Regions from separate parts of the Homo sapiens genome. Here regions 1 and 3 are each linked to region 2. The links are contacts of gene promoters, found by promoter capture Hi-C in blood cells and fetal thymus (Javierre and others, 2016). All regions are on one chromosome and are shown on one strand. Each heading gives the region's core, a stretch centred on a gene start or on the middle of the fragment in contact. The rest is flanking DNA. Distances are from core to core; before and after follow the strand shown.

What was found. The method cuts DNA at HindIII sites, captures the fragments that hold promoters and counts their contacts. A CHiCAGO score of 5 or more calls a contact.
Region 1: a contact is called between the fragment with the promoter of ZXDB here and the fragment with the promoter of APEX2 in region 2, in 2 of 17 cell types (total B cells and M0 macrophages). The highest score is 9.4, in total B cells.
Region 3: a fragment that was not itself captured here is called in contact with the fragment with the promoter of APEX2 in region 2 in 8 of 17 cell types (fetal thymus, monocytes, total B cells and 5 more); the score reaches 11.0 in fetal thymus.

What each region holds. Positions count from the first base shown.
Region 1 is chrX:57,589,578-57,593,691 of GRCh38, reverse strand. ZXDB (zinc finger X-linked duplicated B) reads right to left here and starts at 1,681. Exons shown (of 1, transcript NM_007157.4): 1 at 1-1,681. The coding sequence starts at 1,643. RefSeq lists silencers at 804-993, 1,054-1,343. The HindIII fragment of the contact is 4,972 bases long and covers 1-2,831 here.
Region 2 is chrX:54,998,890-55,002,830 of GRCh38, reverse strand. APEX2 (apurinic/apyrimidinic endodeoxyribonuclease 2) reads right to left here and starts at 2,468. Exons shown (of 6, transcript NM_014481.4): 1 at 2,252-2,468; 2 at 1,202-1,285; 3 at 400-580. The coding sequence starts at 2,408. RefSeq lists a silencer at 2,448-2,587. The HindIII fragment of the contact is 4,396 bases long and covers 1,753-3,941 here.
Region 3 is chrX:52,998,245-53,002,075 of GRCh38, reverse strand. No RefSeq gene overlaps it. Among named protein-coding and RNA genes, the nearest start is that of FAM156A, 42 kb to the right of the region's middle. The HindIII fragment of the contact is 8,235 bases long and covers 1-3,831 here.

The DNA.
Region 1 (4,114 bases), core at 432-2,931, 2.6 Mb before region 2:
CGGCTTTTCCAAGTGTCCACATCCTGCAGGTGTTTCTTGGAGTGAATGTAGAGGCTACTGCGAGCAGAGAACCTGGCACAGCAGCCTGCCACAGGACACACGAAAGGCTTTGTGCCCAGGTGGGTTATGCTGTGGCCTTTCAGATGTTCCGCCCTCGTGAAAGATTTCCCACAGCCTTCCACAGGGCACATGAACCTCCGGTCATCGTCGTGCTTTCTTTTGTGCCTTAAGAGTTTGGACATGCTAGTGAAGTTCCAGCCACAGCCATCAAAGTCACAAAGGAAAGGTCTCTCGCCGGTGTGACTCCGCAGGTGAATTTTCAGCCTACAAGCCTTGTCATATTGTTTGCTGCAGCCAGGAAAAGAGCAGGAAAACAGTTCCTGTTCCCTGAAATGGGCGCGGTTATGGGAAAACAGAGCACTCACTGTGATAAATGTCTTCTTGCAGCCAGAAAACGCGCACTGGTAAGGCCTCTCCGGTTCGAAGTGGCTGCGCTGGTGGGCGCTGAGTTTGGCCTGCGTGGGGAAGCTCTCCTCGCACACCTCGCATTTGAATGAGTTCTCCTGCTCATGGCCCTTCATGTGCGCCTTGAGGTTGTACACTGTGGTGAAGCTCTTGCCACAGCCCTCTGCCGGGCAGCCAAAGGGCCGCAGTTTGTCGTGCGACTGCAGGTGCCTCTTGAGCTTGTAAGAGGTGGTGAAGGTCCAGCCGCAGCCACCCAGGGGGCATTTGAAGGGCCTCTGGCCCTGGCTGCTGCTGTGCGTCAGCAGGTGCACCTTCAGCTGGTGCTTCTTGGCGAAGGTTTGCCCGCACTGCGCCTCGGGGCACAAGTACAGCACCACGCCTGGGCCGGAGCCCAGCGGTCCGCGGGGGCCCAGGGCGGCGGCCGGGCCCTCCGCCTCCTCCTCAGGCGCCGGAGCTGGCGCGGGTTCGGCCGGCTCAGCTAGCAGGAGGTCTGGCGGCAGCTCTGGGCAGTCACCCGGGTGCGCGGCATGCGGGAACCCAGCTTGCGGGGCGATCAGACACCCGGGCTGCTGGGCAGGAGCGGCCCCTGGCTCCCAGGCGTGTGGTGGGGGCGTGGCCAGGGTGAGGACGCCGTTCTCAAAGCGCAACAGCAGGTCCTGGTTGTGGATAGTGACTGTGCCCGCGAAGGCCGCGGCGGGGCCGGGGGCGGAGATCGGGGCCGGAGTGGGAACCGCGGACAGGCAGCGGGGGCCTAGCGCAGTGGGCCCCGCGGGATTCGCGCCGCTCTCGCCCCCCTGGAGCCCCGGGCCCTCCTCGGCCTCCTCCCTCAACACAGGCCCTGCGGCCTGACCGGAGCCCGCGGTCTCCACGTCGCCACCCACCGGGTCAAGCAGCACCAGGAAGAAGTCGTCGCCGCCGCCGCCGCCGCCGCCGCTAGGTTGATCGGTCCTCGGCGCCAACAGGCTTGGGCCAGGGCCCCGTGATGCCGTGCTGGCCTCCTCGCGCCGCCGCCCGGGCCCGCCATCTTGGGGGCCCCGGAGCAGCAGGAGGCGGCGCGTGGGGACCTGGCCAGCCGGCGAGTCAGGGCCTCGGTGGACTCGGCCGCCACCCGCGGGGATACCGCCGCCGCCGCCGCCCTGTAGTGTCCCGCGAGCCGGGAGCAGCTTCGGGATTTCCATCTCTGCGTCCGAGAGGCTCGGCTGGAACCAGAGCCGAGGAGGAGGCGCGATCCCGCCCCCTGCCGCGGGCCTGAACACGTTCCTGAAAGGGGAAAAAAAAATGTGCAATGCGCAGAAACTGGCCCTATCAGATATTAAAACGTATTTAACGCCACAGTGATTTAAATATTCTGGTACTGGGTCTCTGGAACAGAATAGAAAGCCCAGAGGTAGAGCCTGGTATGCATAAATACGTTCTACAGTTAATATAAGTAAGTAATTAAGGGGGTCTTCTGAGGTAATGGGGAAATGACGACAGCTTGTTCAGTAATGCTGTGGAACACCTAGGTATCTATCCGCTGGAAGCAATTTTAATCCATGACTCATTGTATATACCCAAATAAACACACCCCAGCCCCTCCCAGTGTTAGATATGTTGCTTCGTACTTTCTGTGTGTTAAAATTTGCTGGCTGGCTGGCTGGCTGGACTGATGGATGAAAGACAATTCCTGAGAGAAAAAACTGTCTCTGTGTCAGCATTAAACCACCATAGCGCTGGCAGTTCTGCTGAAAATGTCCTTCCCCTTCCCACCTCCCCGCGGGACAACTTCCATATTCACAATTATCTTGAGCAAAGTCTTCGGTACAATTTGCCGCATAGTTCAAATTTTGTCTTGCTGATACAGACATTAGAATGAGTGAGAGATGCGGCCAAAACAGGTTAGCACTCTTCAGCCTAGAAATTCAAAGTCTGGAGGATGAAACAATTTACACTGAAATCTGGAAAAAACCCAACCTTCTCCTGGCTTCTCCCTATACAGTGCACAACCTAAACCAACTTTTGCCCTTCCACCATCGGTTGTACTGTGATAAATTTCATGTCTGCTCTCACAGCACAATGAGGGCATTCATTCCTCAGTTTACTCTGCCTTCTCCAGCACGTGGAGGTCTCTGGGCAGGAGTTTCAGTTAAATGTGTTTAGGTTAAATCCTGAGTCACTGCAATGGATTCTGCCAAGTAAAAGGCACAGACGATCTTGTCCAATCAACCTGGTGTACCTGTTCACATTTAAGTGTGGTGGCCCAGGCTTGCTGGGCCTGTGGTGCCTAATGATCTTATTAATGATGATGACAATCCTTCATTTTGTCCGTTACGACTGAGTTGGGAATTGACACAAATATAGGGTGAAATATCTGAGATAAGAAAGCTTAGAGTAATGACTAGATTGGTGGTGGTGGGGGAGCGGGGTGTAACCTGTTGTTTAAATACTCCCAGCTCTCTCGCCCTCTTTTAATGACAGTGGACACTTGGTCTCTTGAAAATCAAGCTATTCATCCATAACTATTTGAACCTCATCAAAATGTCTACTCCACATACTTTTCTTTCTATTACTTTTTCTGGTGGAAGCATTTTTCAAATCTGAGGTATAGAAGAGTGCATAAAACATATTTGTATCGTTTAGATTATTTTACAAAAGCAGACACCTGTGTAACCAGGACCAAGGTCAAGCAATAGACCACTGCCAGCCTTCCAGAATACAGCCGCTGTACTCCTCCCAATCACAACCCACACTCTCCTATATGAATATAGTCATTGCCCTGACTTTGTAATAATCATTTCACTGCTTTCCTTTATAGCTTTATCACTTTTGTACGCATCCGTAAACAATAGAGTTGATACGAAGTTGTATAAATGGAATCATACGGCAAGTTTCCTTTTATAACTTGTTTCTTTCACTCTGTATTATACTTGAGACTCATCCATGTTGTTCATAATAGTTATAAGTAAGTAGATCCTTTGTCTCCATCGACTGTCGTTCCAGCATATGCTTATAGCAAAGTGATTATGGTATGATTATACCACTCCATTCTACAGCAGATGAACATTAGGATTGCTTCTATTTTTCAGCGATTATTATGAACATTCTTGCACATTTCTCATGGGACACATGTGTAAAAATCTCTCTAGGGTATATATCCAAGAATAGAATCACAGGGCCATAGGGTATGGATATCCTGAGCTTTACTAGATGATGCCAAATTGTTCTCTGTAGTGATTGGGCAAGCTGTCAATCCCACCAGCAGCACAGAGAGCCCCTACTGCTCCACATCTTCACCCACACCAAGTATTGCCAGAATTTAAATTTTGCCAGTCTACTGGTGGGCAATACCCAAATTACTAGTAAGCTTTAGCACATTTTCGTGTTTATGAGCCTTTTGGAGTGTCTACTCCGAAGAAGGCCTATTCAAATTTACCTCTTTTAACCCATGTTTCTATTCTATTGTTCATCTAGTACTTACTGACTTAATGAGCCTGTTAAATATTTTAAATACTAGTCCATACCTGTGGCCAAAATATTCCCTTGTTCTGTTTGTATTTCCCATTGCTTTGTGCTGTGTTTTGTGAACAGAAGATCTTAATTATAATATAGTCAAATTCATCATTCTTTTCCTGATGGTTAGTGTGTTTTTGTTTTAAGAAATCTGTTTTAA
Region 2 (3,941 bases), core at 1,219-3,718:
CTGGCATGCACAGGACTTGGGGACTGACTACTGATAAGGCAGGGAGAGGGATATCTAAGGATTACCACCAGGTAATGGTGCTGCTATTCACACAGAACACCCAGAAAGACAGCAACCTGGGGCACTGAGTTCAGCACTAAGTTGCTTTTGAGATGTCTATGGTAATAAGAGCTGGATCACTAGGCCAGCCCCACATTGTAGAGATGGAAACTCAAGCTTCAGAGGGGGGAAAAATTTGCCAGGGTCACACACTGAGTAGCCCAGCCAGGACTAAACCAGGAAAGGCAAATTTGGGAACTTCTCCACGGTGCATGTATGTTTACATGGCAAGCCTTAGAATCTTCACACTCAAAGAGTAGCACCAGCAGTGCTCAGTAGCAGGGAGATATGAGCTATTACCGGATCTTATGCTGTGTGAGGAGGGCCCTGCCCTCACTATCCAGAGCCCGGAGTTCCTCTTGGGTAAACTCATCCATGTTTCCATAGCAACCAACATCCCCATTCTGGGTGGCAAACAGGCCACTCAGGCCTTCTTCAGCAGCCACTGGGGTAGCATTGTCCTTACAGAAGGTGGCTACACCTGGGAACAGACAGGGCACTCTGAGCAGACCTGGCAGTCAATAGCCTGTTGCACAGCCTGTCCCACTCCAATTGTCCCCACACAAGTCATCTAAGTCATCTTCATAAAGTGTGGTTCTTGGGCAACCTTATTCAAACCCTGGAGTCTCAGTTCCTACATCTAAAAAAGCCACAGAATGTTCTAAGTGTTTTACATTGATACATGGTGAGTGCTCAAGACGTATTAGCAATTATTATTATCACATGGATTAATTCATTTAATCCTTGTAACAGCCCCGGAAGGTAAACATTATCCTCATTTTCTAGCTGAGGAACCTGAGGCACCAAGAGGTAATGTAACTTGCCAGAGGGTGCACAGCTAGGAAATGAGCCATGATTCAAACCCAGGCTGTCTGGCTCCACAGTTCACACAATTAAGCACCACACTACTACTGTACTTCTGAGGTCCAGTAGGATAATTCTATCCATAAAAATTATATTTCATGTAATTTACTATTATGCAGCTTTAGCTCTGTAAACTAAATGTCTAAGATTTCTTATTACCCTCTCATCAAATATTGGAAACCCTTTTCCCCTATCTGCCTCCCTCACTAATTTAAAGTCCACAGAAAGCCCCATTTACCAGAATAGCCGCTACGGTTGCGGCTGAAGCTGAAATAGGAGTTATAACCCTCAACGATAGCCAGGGGCTCTGTCAGTGCATCCCCTGGAAAAAAAAAATGTAAGATTAAGTCAGAGGTAAAACTAGCATCCGAGAAACACAAAGGCCTGGAATTACAGTTGTAGGCTAATTCCTTGCACACATCAGAGCCAGAGTTGGGGGTGACGGGAATGAAATATCCATGATTAGAGGAGGACCTAGAAAGATGGGAAATGTCAGAGAGGAAATTGATATCAGAATTAGAAGGCTTGGTGGGGGGCGGTTAGAGACTATGAAGTGGAGGTGGAGAATTAGGTGGGAAGGGGAAAGAATCAGAGCTAAGCCTGGGGGTCTGAACGATAGGAGGAAGCTGGGGATGGGGATGGACATACGAGAGGATGGTGGGAATCTGAGCTAAGGGTGAGAGGTAAGAGAGAGGGAATTAGGGGATCTGAACTGGGGGTGGAGGGAAAAGGAATTAGGGGATTCTGAGGGGAGATAAGAGGGTGAAGAAATAAGAGGACATCTAAGCTTGGGGTGGGAAATGAGGTGGGAATTAGGGACTTTCCGCTGGGAGGAGAGATGGGAATAGATAAGGGGTACTGGGGTTCTGAGGTGGAAATGTGAAAAAGAGGAAATTAGACTGAGCTGGGGTCAAAGATGGGGTGGGAATTAGAGGATCTGAGCTTGGGGCAGGGATGAAGAATTCGGGGGTTTGACTTGGCGGCGGGGAGATGGACAGCGTATGGAAGGAGGAAATTCAGGGGACTGAGTTTGGGGCCGGAGAATGAGTGGGAATCTGACTAGATATGGGGTTTCGAGAAGGAGCTAAAGTTTGCTGAAGACAGGAGATGGAGTGCAATTAGGGGATCTAGCTAGGGTGGGAAATGGAAGTTTAAGAGGGAAGGGACCTGGGTCTAAGGACAGGACTCTAAGAATAGGAAACTGGGAAAGTAAAATTACATGGGACAGGGGACAAAAGTTAGCGGGAAAGAAAAAGTATGTAGGGATCCTGGAATCCAGAGCGCTCACTGGTCACTTTGGTTTCCTGGAGACAGACGATATCCGCATCCAGCTCGTCCAAAATGCGCCCCACGGCCACGGCGGCACAGTTGCTGGGTTCCTGATTTGCCACCCCTTGCAGGGGTCTCCGAATCCCATTGATGTTCCAGCTCACCACGCGCAACATCTTAAAGGGCTGGAACACCTCCCAGCCCGCGCCAACCTAGGCGCGAGCGAACTGCTTCCTGTTCAGAAGTTGGCCAGGCCCGCCTCCCGCGCGCGTTTGCGCAGGCGTTCTCGTGCGTACCACTAAAGCGCCTGACGCACGTCGGGCGGGGGCTTCAACTTCCTCAGCTCTCATTGGCGGGAGGAGGAACTGGGTGGACGCTGAAGGAAGCAAAGCGGAAGCCTAGGGGCAATGAATGGCGAGAGGAGTTTCCAGTTGGGCTCCCGCTCCTTCCGCTCGGACAGCTGAGTCTCAATGCGTTTTTCCTCTACTCAGAAGTCCAAGTGGTGCGTCCGGTTACTTACAAACGGCATTTTGCCACTTTTTAAGCGACGGAACCCTGAGCGGAACTGCTCAGCTGCCAAAGCCCCGCCCTCAGTGCGGCGGACCGCCCACCTAAGTTCACAGATGGCTGCAGCGCTTGCGCCCCAGGAATAGCTGGCGCTAAGTGCTCGCGTTGGACTGGGCAAAGGGAAGTTCATGGTTGGAGGAGGGAGCAGTAAGAGTCGCTCCACTGAGATAAGACTTAGGAGGAGGGCCTTTGGCTTTATTGGGGCAGAGGGGAGGAGGAGGAGGCTGTCTCAAGCCTGCCCTGTAGCTTTTGTCTTGGCTCTTAACATTCTGAAGGATGTAGCCGGACACATCCTTACTCTTGGTTCTGTTTCTCAGATAAGTGAAATCGAAGCCCAGGAAATGTAAGCTCGTGAGCAGCATTGTCTCCGGATGCATCCATGGCTCTTCTGTATATGTTATCTCATTTCATTCTCAAGACAACCCAGTTCGGGACATGGAGGCTAAGTTAGAGACGTCGAATGAATTCATTTCATTCTCACAGTTCACTCTCTCTTACACTGAAGTAGTAGAGCCAGGATTCACACCCTGTCTTAATTAGCTCAATAATTACTTTTCTGAGTGTTTTTACTGACCACACACCTCCCCAGTTAAGTCTTTTCCTCTGGGGCCCCACGGCACCCTATGGTCCATTCTGTCACAGTACTTATAATACACAGCTATCATTGACTTCTATTTCTGCTGCCATTAGAATGCCAGCAACTTGAGAGCAATGACCATGTCTGGTTCATCTTGTTAGCCCCATCCCCTAATACTGGACACAGCATATGTTGGGAAGCAATAGATATTTGTCAGGTGAATGAATGAACAAAGGATAATAGCAAGAGCATCGACAGGTTCATGGCTTGTTTTTGAGAGCACAAAAATTAGAAGTAATGGATATGCCCAATGTCCAGGGAAAAGCATAACGATGCATCTTTAGGTTCCTCACCCAGAATTGCAGCATAATTATTTGTTCCCCAGAATTTAAGTCTTAGAGCCATCATCCTCAATGGTTACAGCAAAGACGCAGTAAACTGCTTTTCCTCCTGGAGGACTTAAAAGGTTACCAGTTGTTGCTATCAGAAAATAGCTCTGTGATTAAAATAAAAATTTGCATGTCCTGAGCTTCTTCATGCTTTGGGAGTTATTGACTCAGGATTG
Region 3 (3,831 bases), core at 1,157-3,656, 2.0 Mb after region 2:
GTATGTTTCTTCATTATACATTCTTTTAAGTGGAATTGCTAGGGAAAAAGAGTTCAGCCATTCAACAACCATGCAGTGAGTGCCTGCTGTGTGGTGGGCACTGGAGAGACTGAGGAAACTGGATAGGAAAATGCCCCTGCCCTCATGGATGTAACATTCTAAGGGCTTACATATAAGGATTTTTCATTTTGATAGATGCTGCTCTGATGTTATTCATCAGTGGTGCAGGAGAAGAAAAGTTTGTTGACTGGCATAGTCACACCACTCATGGGGCAGGAGCTCTGTGGCAGTGGACTCGATGCTTAGACCTTTGCTCCCTTTAAGATCTTCAGGGTCTGGTGATAAGACTTTATCTGGGTGTGTTGTTGGGGAGAGAGGGAGAAAAAGATGGGGAAGGGCTGGTCTACTAGTAATACAGTGGAGGAAGGTGGGAATAAAAGTCTACTTAGCTGTGTGGAAGAGTGGCTGGGCACAGTTAGAAATGCAGTCTTGGCCGAGTGCAGTGGCTCATGCCTGTAATCCCAGCACTTTGGGAGGCTGAGGCGGGCGGATCACCTGAGGTCAGGAGTTCTAGACCAGCCTGGCCAACATGGTAAAACCCCGTCCCTACTAAAAATACTAAAAATACAAAAATTAGCCGGGTGTGGTGGTGTGCGCCTGTAGTCTCAGCTACTCCGGAGGCTGGGGCATGAGAATCACTTGACCTGGGAGGTGGAGGTTGCAGTGAGCCGAGTTCGGCCACTGCACTGCAGCCTGGGCAACAGAGCGAGACTCCATCTCAAAAGCAAAAACAGAAAGAAAGAAGAAGAAGAAAAAAAAGAAATGAAAGTCTTGGGCCCCTCCCCAGACCCACTGAATCAGAAACTCTGAAAGGTGAGGCCCAGCAATCTGTGTTTTAACAAGCTCTCTAGGTGATTCTTGATGCACACTAAAGTTTGAGAACCATTAGAGTAATCCACAGGACCTAAGTATGAAATAGCTGGCCCCTCTTGGATCTCACCTCCTGTGAGTGTGCAGCTGGGGATGAGGCGTGGAGGATGTAACATACCATTGCGGGTACCGGAAATGAACACACCATTATGCGAGATACCATAGGGGAAGGGAGCTTCTATTTTGTAAGAATACAAATGCTGTGTGTGGAGGGACAATAAAGCCCACCCCCGCCCACCAACGAAATCAGCCCCACCTTTCGACAGTAGGGCGGGCGCGGCGGCGAGCGCCCCAGGCGGCAATCCGTCCTCCTGGTTTCCACCCAGGCCCAAGCTGACACCCATTCTCCGACTTCTCGGAGACCCCTCTAGTCCCATTTTTGGCCACGCCCGTCTCCGTTCTACAGATCTGAATAAATTAGGAACCTGCAAAGGGGCAGTCGATCGGTTGTGGGACGATCAAGGCAGGAAGGCATCAAGGACCGCTCTGGGAAGCTCACCTAGAGAGTGCGGCTCTTACAGAGTACAGCGGGATGCACTCGTAGAGCCGGGTCCCTGGGTCTTCGCGCTCGCGCACGGTCAGGCACAGTGGCTGATGGGCGGAAGTTCGTAAAGCGGAGCCTGGGCTTTAAGGACTGGATGACCAGTGGGATCCAGTCTTCAAGACTTGGACTGTTGTTCAGTATGAGGCTAAAGATGCTTCCCAAGTCACAGGCAGGGCTTAAGTGAGACCACTCGCAAGGGGTCATCTGGCGCTCAGTGCGCAGGGCTCTAAGTTTTAGGTCATCACAGATCTGACTTGCAGTGTCCCAAGCACTTCTTTCTTATGTGCCATCTCATTTAATCCCCACTAGCACCTTTGGAAGAAAGCCCTGTCACCTCTGTCGCTGATGAGGACACTGGAGCGCCAAGAAGGCAGATCCCTGGCTGGGGCCCTCCAACCAGGGTGGGGCAGAGCTGGGGCCAGATGACAATTCCCGGAGGACCGCAGTTGGGACACTCCCAGCGCTCATGCTGCCCCTGTCCCTCCCAGGGTCCCTTCTCTGTCCTCACAGACCCAGCTGGGCAGTGTCCTCCCATCTCCTGAGGTGACACTCACCCCAGCGCCTCCTTCAGGAATCCCACCCCGCCCCCTCCAGCCCTAGGCGAATTGCCCTGGACTCTCAGTCTGGGTCTGGAGTTTCATCTGGATCTGGGAGACATTTCCAGTTCTGCCCTAACAGGGATGTTGTGACAGAAACCTGTGTGGGGGCAGGAGAGATATCTGTCCTGCAAAATGGTCTGCACTTTCAGGAAGTGCAGGGAGGGTCCTGAGGGGGTCCTCTGAGGTAGGCCTAGGTGCCGGGTGAGAGGACCGAAGTGGGCGTGAGAGGGTATAACTGAGGCCCCATGACTAGGGCTGGGGTAGGGAGGTAGAGGTCCGTGGTGGAAGGGGAGCCCTGGTGGCTCACAAGGGTGGGGAGCTGGGGAGAGAGAGGAGGTGTGGCAGCTGCCAATTGGAGAGGAAGTTTGGGAGAAAGGACCAGAATGCTCAGAAGGGCCATAATGGGGGTTGCCATTGGCAGTGTGAAGGGAGGACCTCTACTCTCTCTCCAAGATCCAGTTCCCCACAGTGGGTGCTGAGAGATGGCAAAGATAACGGGGTCTAGGGGTCTCCTACTGTGTTCTGGGATTTACCCTGAAGCCCCCATGGGGCAAGATACAAAAGTCACCAGGACCAAAGGTGATCAGGGTTGGTCAGACGATGGCCATTCCTGGGAGCCAGATATGAGAGCTTACTCTCTGATCCCCTCAGTCCCAGAGGGTCCTTCCCCATCCCTGGTGTGAACCTGCCTTCCTCATGACAACAACGGTGGTGACTGCAGACTGTGGGGAACTACAAGATCCAAGGCCTCCCCATAACAGTGTTGGATGGCACAGAGATTCAGCATCACACAGCAGCCCTGAGCTGATTCTTTGTGGGTATGTGTACCAGGGTGTAGCTGGTAAGCTCTTTGTGGGTTGGTGTGTGAGGTCCTTGAGTTATTGTGAGCTGTTACCTTGAGGTAGGAATTCTCTGAGCTGGTTGGGGGTCTGTGTCCTGAGGTGTGGCATCTTTGAGCTGTTTGGTGGTTGGTGTCTAGGGTGAGAGGTCTCTGAACTGCTTGTGGGCACTGTCCTAAGGCATGAGATCTTTGAACATTTTTGTGGGAGGTCTTTGTCCAGAAGGTTAGGTCTCCGAGCTGCTCATATATCAGGATATTTTTGTGAGGAAGGCAGGATGGTCCTTTCTCTCACAGGGGTAGAACAAGGTGCCCTGGTATCAGAGAGATGAAAACATAGGATCCTTATCCTTAGGGAGGGCAAGTCCTCAGTGTAGCATGTAGGAGCCAGTGGTACAAATACTAATGACAATGTCTGCAGACATTAACCCCATCCTTGCTCAGGGCCGACCCCTGTGACAAACCCATGTAACCCATGTTAACTCAATCTGCCAAATTGCCAATGAGGAGCTCACCATTTGCAGATGAGGAGGCTGAAGCCAAGTGAGGGTAGGGCCTGTGCTCACACAGTCCTCATGAAGAGGGAGGAACTGGCTGTAACTTGGACTCACTGGAGGAGACAGGGAAAGGCTCAGGCACAGCCGGGGTCAATGGGAGATGACAAGGAAAGGGGAAAGGAAGAGGTTTGCCCAGGGCCTCAAGGGCCCCATCACTGACTCACTGGTGGGAGGTCTGCCTCTCTGTCTCTCTGTCGCACACCCTGCTTGGTAATGGATGTTGAGAATGCAATCCTCACGTTACCTGTGGAAGTGGTGGCATGAGGTAAAGAGTGGGGAAATACCACAGATTCATCCATTGGCATGAGGTCCACCAGCAAATGTAGAGATTCCTACCTCTTCTTCCCCCTTGAAAGAATTTTT